Regions from separate parts of the Homo sapiens genome. Here region 1 is linked to region 2. Evidence: promoter capture Hi-C in human tissues and cell types (Jung and others, 2019). All regions are on one chromosome and are shown on one strand. The core of a region is centred on a gene start or on the middle of the fragment in contact, and the rest is flanking DNA. Distances in the headings are between cores, read along the strand shown.

Region 1 (4,306 bases), core at 672-3,171, 130 kb after region 2:
AACATAGGAGAGTAAATCATTTTTTTAGCCTGTACCTAGCTGGAGCAGTTCATTTGCAGGACCAATAACAAGTATCCCTTCAGAGGCTCCCCTCAGCCAAGGAAGACAAGGTGCTGAAAATCCCACATTGGTAAAACATCCAACTCTCACTTCTTTAAATAAATTGGAACCTAGAACAGTTAAGCAGGTTAGTGGGAAGAGAATTTAGGTTGCTTAGTTCGGGCTTTTCCTAATCTATGAGGATCTTTCCAGTATTGAGGAGAATAGGCAGTACTTCTAAATACTTCAAAGTACTTGAACATTGAATTACTGCTTGTGAAATATTATATAACATGATACTCAATCCAATCATTAAGGTAAAATAGGCAACAAAATCCACACTAATGAAAGAGCTGTTAAACGACTTCAACGTTTTATATTCTGACCCCAGAAGGCTTATTTGCAGCTCTTGTTCTGCTTTAGTGTCAGTCCTTTTGAGCTGTTAATCCTTCAGGTGGTTCTAATCACAAACAGCTGTACTAGGTGGAGCTCTGCTACCCAGGAAATGCCCTTGTAATACTCAGGAGTCTTGACCCCTTCTTTCTCACTCTCGCTTTCACAAATGATGGTTTGGAAACCTTCAAATACAAAGGGTGAGGCCAGCTCCTAAAGTCCCTTCATTTTCTACTGTCTAACAACTACTGCCTTATCTCATTTAAGTAAAATGTTAGCCAGTAGAGGCAACCTCAAGATCCTAGAGACATCTTTGCCTCCTCTCTCTTTTGATCCCCGTATCTAATTATTTCAAGGCTTCCTATTTTTTCTTTGGCAGTTGCTTTCCTCCTCCAGTCATGCTTATCACCCTGGTCCAGAACCTCACCCTGTGCATTCTTAGATAAGCCTCAATGCCTTTTAACTGAAATATCTGCTTCTAGGCTCTTCCCCTACATTCTATCTTGTTTTCTAGGAATTAGTACTATTTTTAGAACATTACCTGGAGAGACTATAGTGGCTTCCTGTCAGAGCCTGATCTCCTCAACCATAACATTCAAGCCCTCCATCAACCGGACACATCTCACAACCTGATTTTGCCACTCCAGTCAGGCTGTTTAATAAAAGATCATGCTTAATTCTGCCTTTTTCAGTCCCTTAGAATTTACCATCCCCTCCCCTAAATAAACCACGTTCTTTATCTCATGTCCTTCTATGTCCTACCTCTTTTCCAGGGTTTGAATTATAGGCCCCAGTAGTACTTTTCTTGCACAATCTAGCCCTTAATTTCCCTTCTGCTAGGATCCAGGTAATCCTTGACAATCATGGGTAAGAAAAAAAATATTTTGAGGGCTTACTATATGCCAGGTGCCATTCTAAGTGGTTTATAGCTTTGCATGTATTAAATAGTTTAATCCAAACAATTTGTGTGGAGTTGGTTTCTATTATCAGCACTTTCCAGGTAAGGAAATTCAGGCATCGAAAATTTAAATAACTTTCCCAAATAAAAGGTGGGATGTGAGTTGGAACTTGCGTGGAATTCATCTCCAGAATTCACATTGTTAATTGCCATGTAATCCTGCATCCCACTAGGAACGGGGGCAGGATTTTTGTGAGCCTATTGCATTGCAGAGCACCTATTACACAGGACAGCTTCACAGTTAACTGCCATTTTCTCCCAGTTAGTTGATGCTATGATTCTGATGCAAATTTATGCGTCAAGTGTTAAACTACCCTATTTGATGAGGCATTTGATTGAAAACTGTTACAAACGCATATTAACTTCACACCTGTGGTTCTTTCAATAGAAGTCTTTTCTGAGCAAAGTCTATTCAGGTAGCATAAGCAGTTCGCCCACTGAAGGGACTACCCCAGCTTTCAGTCATTTGATGGGTTGCCTACACAGCCTTTTTTTCTTTGGAGCTGATTTAACTCGCTTAATTTTGTACTTGTCAAGCACAGTGAACATGATGAATCCCTCCTAGGTACCAATTTATTAAAAACATCTATTAATTTAAAAAATGTGCCACAGCTTGAATTTTCTCTTACAAAAGCAGGAATTTGTTCATTTGTAAACAAGCTTCCTGTTCCTTTCTCAAGGTTTACATCCATGATGTTGTAAAGGCTGGGACATCGCTCCTTATCAACTTGCAGGTTTTAAACAAGTCATTCTTGCCCTTCTTTCTGTTCTCAATAAGAGGGATATTTTAGTCCTTCGGAAAATGTAGCTTATCATTTTTGATATGGTACAAAACAGCATTTCCTCCCTTTCTGTTGCATGACCCTGCAGTGACAATCTCTGTTTTACAACTTTGGACAATGATACAAAGTTGTGTTTATGGTCAACCTATGCTGCATTCTACATAAAACTGGAAATTTTAGTAACTCATATGGGACCACTGAAGGAAACATAAGACTTGAGGAGACCCAGACATGCTAATTTGGTCTACTATTTAACCATTACTGCAATCCTGCAAAACATAAATAAGCATACCTGAAGGTGACCAACTATATCACCATGTACTCAAAATAGGGCATTTGTCTTTCATAAGATTCATAATCCTCAGTGGAGGCTTTCCTGTGTGAAAACAGTTTTCACATTTGTTTCTGGGTTCACATAATTCTTAAAACATTTTGAGAGTAGTTTGTCAAGTTTTAGGATTGTGGTATGTCAAATCATTTTCACAAAATAACCTTTGATATCCTAAGAACTAAGTATTTTATTATTGCTTTGTCTTGTGAAATGCCCTATGAACAATACCACTCATAACTGTGATATTCCTGTATCCACACAGTAATTGTAGCCTTTTCCTGAGAGGTTTGAGCAAATAGAGCCCCACTGCTTCCCTAACCAGGCATAATAACCACACCTCTAACGACTGTTAATTACTTCTCATAAGAATGTTGAGGCTGAGATAAACAATGCAATAGTGAGTTTCTTAATTTTGAATAGGAGCTGCACATGGTCTTAATATTGCTATAATTTCCTTTTCTTACCATAAATAACTCATTGAAGTGTCCCTTTGTGGTAAAAACTGATTGTTTATTCTCTGACAAAACAAAATTGTTAATCTTGCTATGACATGGCTGAGTTATCTGAGCTTCCGGCCTTCTTACTGAAGAGTTTGGCATCTGAGATATAATACTTTTTAAAGGGTGTAAACTGAATTCCCACTTAATATTAGTAAATAACATTCTGTACTAGTATGGACCAGGCAACATTTTTTATTTTTATTTTTCTCCTTCTAAATATATCCTAAAAGTTGAGGACCAGTGAGGATTACTGGCATAAGACAAAAGCTGATATTTTTCCTTGGTAATTCAGTCAAAGCATCACTTTCATCTGGATACTTTGTACTTTGTATGTGGTCTGGAACTTTTAGTTTAGTAGTCTAGACATTATCAAAGTAATATGTTGAATGGAGAACATTTATGAATATAAGTGATTAGGAGTTTGAGATTCAAAGTATTTCTTCCAACACAGCTATTTTATATAATAATTTATCTGTTATTTTACTTATAGGAACTGAGAGCTCTACCTAGTTGTACGATCTCTATAGATATTTCTGCTACCAAAGAGAAGTGCAGAGATTCTCCATTTATGTGCACTGCCATCTGTCACATGGAGACATAGTGTTGTGTCCACTACGTAACATACAACTAAAGCTTGTACATTACAATGCTACCATACAACCATCCTGGAGGGCAGGCATGGTTTATATCAATGGAAGTGGGCAAATGAACCAAGCAGCCTGTTGAAACGTTTGAGAAATTTAATGATTGATCACTCACTTTAGTTGCAGCAGAGGGTCTCCTACGGATGCATCTTATGGCTTCCATATAGGTAATACAAAATATAGAGCTTAGTGGCACACAAAGCCAGCTTACTATTCCTGGATTGCCCATCTTACCATTTCTTCTGATTCTGAGTTATGCTGCAGAGAAGAATCAACAAAGCCATCATCTCTCTGCTGCCCTTTAATTTTCCCTTTTGCTTACTTTGCTTTATTTCATCAACATTTTAAAGATGATACTGTAACTCCAAAGTGGAATAATTTTCCTGAGATCCTTAAAAGTCAATGGTGGAAGCAGGATTCTTCTACTTCTCCAGACTAAGTCAAAGGCACTGTCTATAAAAACACAATTCCTCCAACAAGGCTTTCAGTACATAGGATAGCCAGCACTTCAGTGTTCAGTATATTTGTTTTTGTTTTATTATTTTTTAAAAAGTATTTTATTTATTTATTTTTTTTAAGATGGAGTCTCGCTCTGTCACCCAGGCTGGAGTGCAGTGGTGCAATCTTGGTTCACTGCAACCTCTGCCTCCCAGGTTCAA
Region 2 (4,660 bases), core at 1,195-3,694:
TATTTATAGTGTTTGGTATATTTCCCAAATCAAAAAAATGGCTATAAGACTTTAAAATTTATCTTTAAAACTTATCTATATCTTATCTATAAGACTTTAAAATTTATCTTGTAAAAACAAGAGCTCATTAGACATGTGTTTACTTTAATTTTATTTTTAAAGAGAATATTTTCTATCAGTGGCTCCTCATGGTAGGAATTTCACCTCCTGAATTTTCCCGGGAGGAGGATCTCATCTAGAGTAAGATCAAGGCCGAAAGAGAGGGTTTTTTTGTTTCTCACCACATTAGTTTCTTTTCACACTATTCTGCCAATCACTGGGAAAGAATGATAATCCAGACAAATGGTATCCCAGTTCTGATCATATTAGTAGATCTGGAATCTCAACGACTGCTATTAACTTTGTTATGCAGCCAAGCTGATCTGTGATATTCACTTGGTCAAACAAAATTTTTCATATCTGAGTTGGACACACAAACCTCCATGTATAGGCATAAACCTCAGATATGCATATAACTGCAAAATCTTTTCAATTTAATTAGACAGTAAACATTCTTCTCAGATTACATTTGTTTTCAAAATAACTTTTAGAACTGTTTGATTCGTTTTTCTATTGCTTCATGTCTTTTACATTTTAACTTGAGCTACAGTAAAACAACGTGGGGGAGTACTGGGATACTGTCAGCAATCTGCATTTGCCCTGGTGTTTTCCACACCCTGCATTCCATGTCTATTCTTAGCACTGTCCTTGGGCTGCTTGTCAGCTCACATTCAGTGCGGGGTAAAAGGCAGGCAGCCACTGCCTCTGAAGAAATACTTAATGTATACAGAATGAGATAGCAAACCTTTGGAATGTCCCAGAGCAGCTGTTGAAGGCACTAGTCCTTAACCTCTACCAATGTCTCCACCTTGAGCCAAGGCAGTAGTTTGGGAGAATATAATAAGCACCAATCATCAGATGTGCTGTGTAAACTCAGACACGCAGTGTAAGCTCAGGTGTTGAACTTCCATTGGCTGCCAGGCTATTTAAAGCTAAGGATTATGCAGAGATAGCAGATGTGTTACATTTTGCCATCTAAGTTTATGGAGCATCTAAAAAGCACAGATTAAAACTCACTGAATTCAGCAATCAAACTTTTAAAAGTGGTGTCCTTAAGCTTCATATTAATTTACAAGAGGATATGTAAATACATATCTCATGAACATTTTGTACGTGTCCATAGAACTTATACTATCTTTAAAAAGTCAAAACACTTCAGATAGGATTCAGTATATCTTTAAAAAGATGAATGAGGTACATATTTGAACTTTTTAAAAATAAGATTTATATCTGAAAATTCCCATTGACCTTTAAGGCAGTAACAACTATACTAAATCATAAATAGATATCAGACCCAATTTCCAAATACTGTATTTTAATTTTTGCACTCCATATTTATAAAACCTCATTTTAATTAAAATACATTAAAAAGAAAAGCTTATCGAGTGAAGGGAATCACAACTCTTTTTGGCAAAATAAAAGATTTTCATAAAATGGATAGGAATTCCTTAAATGGGTATAGCTCTTTTGCCATCAGTGATTACAAATGCAGCTGGCATTGTTGGAATAATAAGAAACAATTCGGAGTCCTCTCTAATATCCAAATACAGCCTTCTGTATTTTCAATGTTTCAGTTGTAAGAATAGTATCAGTTTGAGCCACACAAACATATTTACAAATTTTCCTTTCTGAGTAAGAATAATAAAGACAACCTCAACATACCAGGAACTGTGTATATATTTTTAATCTTCATAAAAATCATAGCAAATCATTTCAAATGTGGGTAATACAAACATTCTCGTAGTACCAGTGGCTGAACCATCATCTTCCCCATGTCATCTGAACAGGAACCGATACGATGTCACTTAGTCCCAACTGGATCCTTTACTTCCACCACCAAAATTCCATCATGACAGAGGACTGCAGACAAATCTTTGATTTCCACACCATCTGGTAGTTTGTACTGTCGGGTGAAGCTTCTTGAGATAAAACCGTGCTCATCCATTCTGGTTCCGTGTTGTGCTTTTATCAGCAGCCAGCCTTCGAAGGTCTGAATGATGATGTCTTCAGGGAGGAACTGGACCACGTCCAGCAGGATCTGAAAGTGGGATTTGCCTTCTCGGGGTGGCGTCTCTGCCGCTGAGTCCACTGGAGGAGACTGCGCTGCCCTGGTTTTCCTCAGGTCCACGATGGTTGGCCCAGGCAGTGCATATAAAGCATGATCCAGCCTGCAGTCTTCTAGACCTCGAGCTTCAAACTCTTCCTGGTAACGCACTGGAATCTCTATGAGGTGCCTCAAAATGATTTTTGCCATAGTGAAGGCAAAAACAGCCTTGAACAGCCTCCTTCTGCCAACCTTCCACTGCCTTCAGTCAGTGGCGAGCCCCTGCAGTTGCCTACTGACTGGATTACCAGTTGAAGCAGCTAGTGGTTTATAGCCGTGCCCAGACGCAATCACTTAATTAGGCCTGAATCATAGCACGGAATGCTCTCTTGTCTTTTCACACATGCTGACAATGAACGGCTATTTATAGGGCATGTTTCCCAGTGCATTTAGCACACAGCCTGCACAAGCTGCCCAGTCATGGATTGCCCTTACATTCTCAGTTATCCTTGGCAAATGTGTCTGCCTTGCTTACTTCAAGAAAGAGAGTGGGAATCGAAAATGGTATTTGAAAAATATCTGGGTGAGGCCAGGTGCGGTGGCTCATGCCTGTAATCCCAGCACTTCGGGAGGCTGAGGCGGGTGGATCGCCTGAGGTCAGGAGTTCAAGCCCAGCCTGAACAATGTGGTGAAACCCTGTCTGTACTAAAAACACAAAAATTAGCTGGGCATGGTGGCTTATGTCTGAAATCTTAGCTACTTGGGAGGTTGAGGTAGGAGAATCGCTTGAACCAGGAGGCAAAGGTTTCAGCGAGCCAAGACCATACCGTTGCACTCTAGCCTGGGCAATAGAGTGAGACTCCATCTCAACAAACAAACAAACAAACAAAAACCAAAAATATCTGGGTGGGTGCTTTCTCCCTGTGAACTTCAGTAATCTAAGGGAATAGGACTTCTTAGAACAGTCAGAGATGTTCACTCATAATATGAACTGGGATCACATTTTCCCTCGTCTCCAGATACAAAGCTGGGGAGGGCAGAATCTAGCTGTAATTCAGAAAGAATTAATACACACATATTCAAATCTCAGCCATTCAACAAACTGCCCTGTGTCCTATGCATTTCCTTTTATTTTATCTTTTAGTCTTTTGGGCTAAAAGACACATTATCTGGGTTTATTTACATCTGACTCATCAAAATTAGATCAGATGACTAAGCTAGAGAAGTGACAAACGTCAGATGGGGGCTGCAGGGGCATAGGATGGGGAATTTTAGTGATGAAAATAGAGCCACAAAGAAGAGAAAAATGTCAAAGCTTTGAATGATTTGATATGAACCTCCAAAAATCTAAGGATTAATCTTGTCACAGCTCTGCTACTGAGTTGGCAAAAATAAATTAAATATAATTTCCCCACTATATCACCCTTTATACTAAACTTACCCTGAAAAAGAATGAGGCAACTCCTTATCCACAGCTATGGAAGAATCTCCAAGATATGTTAAATCAAAAAGAAAAGTCCAGGGCAATATATGATATGCTAGTGTTTATACTTTTTTTTTTTTTGAGACAGAGTCTTGCTCTGTCACCCAAGCTGGAGTGGGTGACAGCCTCGAAGTCCTGGAATCAAGAAATCCCTCACTCTCAGCTTCCTGAGTAGCTGGGACTATAGAACCATGCCACCATGCCCAGTTAGTTTTTTTGATTGTTTTTTTAGAGATGGGGGTCTTGTTATGTTGCCCAGGCTGGTCTCTAACTCCTGGCCTGAAGAGATCCTTCCACCTCATCCTCCCAAAGTGCTGGAATTACAGACGTGAGCCACTGCACCAGGCCTTATTTATACTTTTTTAAAAAGTATGTATTTGCTTATATTAATAAAATCTCTCTGAAAGCTTTGTAGCTGAAGACAGTGGGTGCCTCCTGAGAGTGATTGGCAGGTGGGGGCTGGAAGGAGACCTAATTTTTTACTGTAAATACTTCTGTGCTATTTATTTACTTACTATTTTTATTATTATTTTTGCCACCATCTTCTTTGTGATAGTGTGTGCTTTTTATTTTATTTATTTATTTATTTTTTTGAGATGGAGTGTCGCTCTGTTGCCCAGGCTGGAGTGCAGTAGTGCCATCTTGGCTCACTGCAACCTCCACCTCCTAGGTTCAAGTGATTCTCCTGCCTCAGCCTCCTGAGTAGCTGGGACTATAGGCGTCTGCCATCACACCCAGATAATTTTTGTATCTTTAGTAGAGACAGGGTTTCACAATGTTGGCCAGGCTGGTCTCAAACTCCTGACCTCAGGTGATCTGCCCGCCTCAGCCTCCCAAAGCATTGGGATTATAGATATGAGCCACTGCGCCCAGCCAGTGTGCTTTTTATTTATAGAGTGTATATGGAATATACCTACACACAATAAATTTTAAAATATGGAAAATTTCTTCTCCATGGAGATTAATATTTTCTTAAATGGATAGACTTAAGAGTACCTTTCCTTTAAAAATATATGCACTTTCTTCAAATGAAA

What was found. Contacts are between HindIII fragments. The study calls those that stand out against the background at their distance.
Region 1: a contact is called between a fragment that was not itself captured here and the fragment with the promoter of HSPB3 in region 2, in 1 of the 25 tissues and cell types used here (hippocampus).

Annotation. Positions count from the first base shown.
Region 1 is chr5:54,322,380-54,326,685 of GRCh38, reverse strand. All of the region lies in intron 1 of LINC01033 (long intergenic non-protein coding RNA 1033), which reads right to left. Among named protein-coding and RNA genes, the nearest start is that of LINC01033, 3.6 kb to the right of the region's middle. RefSeq lists a cis regulatory region at 834-851 and an enhancer at 771-915. The HindIII fragment of the contact is 4,465 bases long and covers 1-4,153 here.
Region 2 is chr5:54,453,483-54,458,142 of GRCh38, reverse strand. HSPB3 (heat shock protein family B (small) member 3) reads right to left here and starts at 2,444. Exons shown (of 1, transcript NM_006308.3): 1 at 1,766-2,444. The coding sequence starts at 2,353. The coding sequence ends at 1,901. The HindIII fragment of the contact is 2,000 bases long and covers 1,747-3,746 here.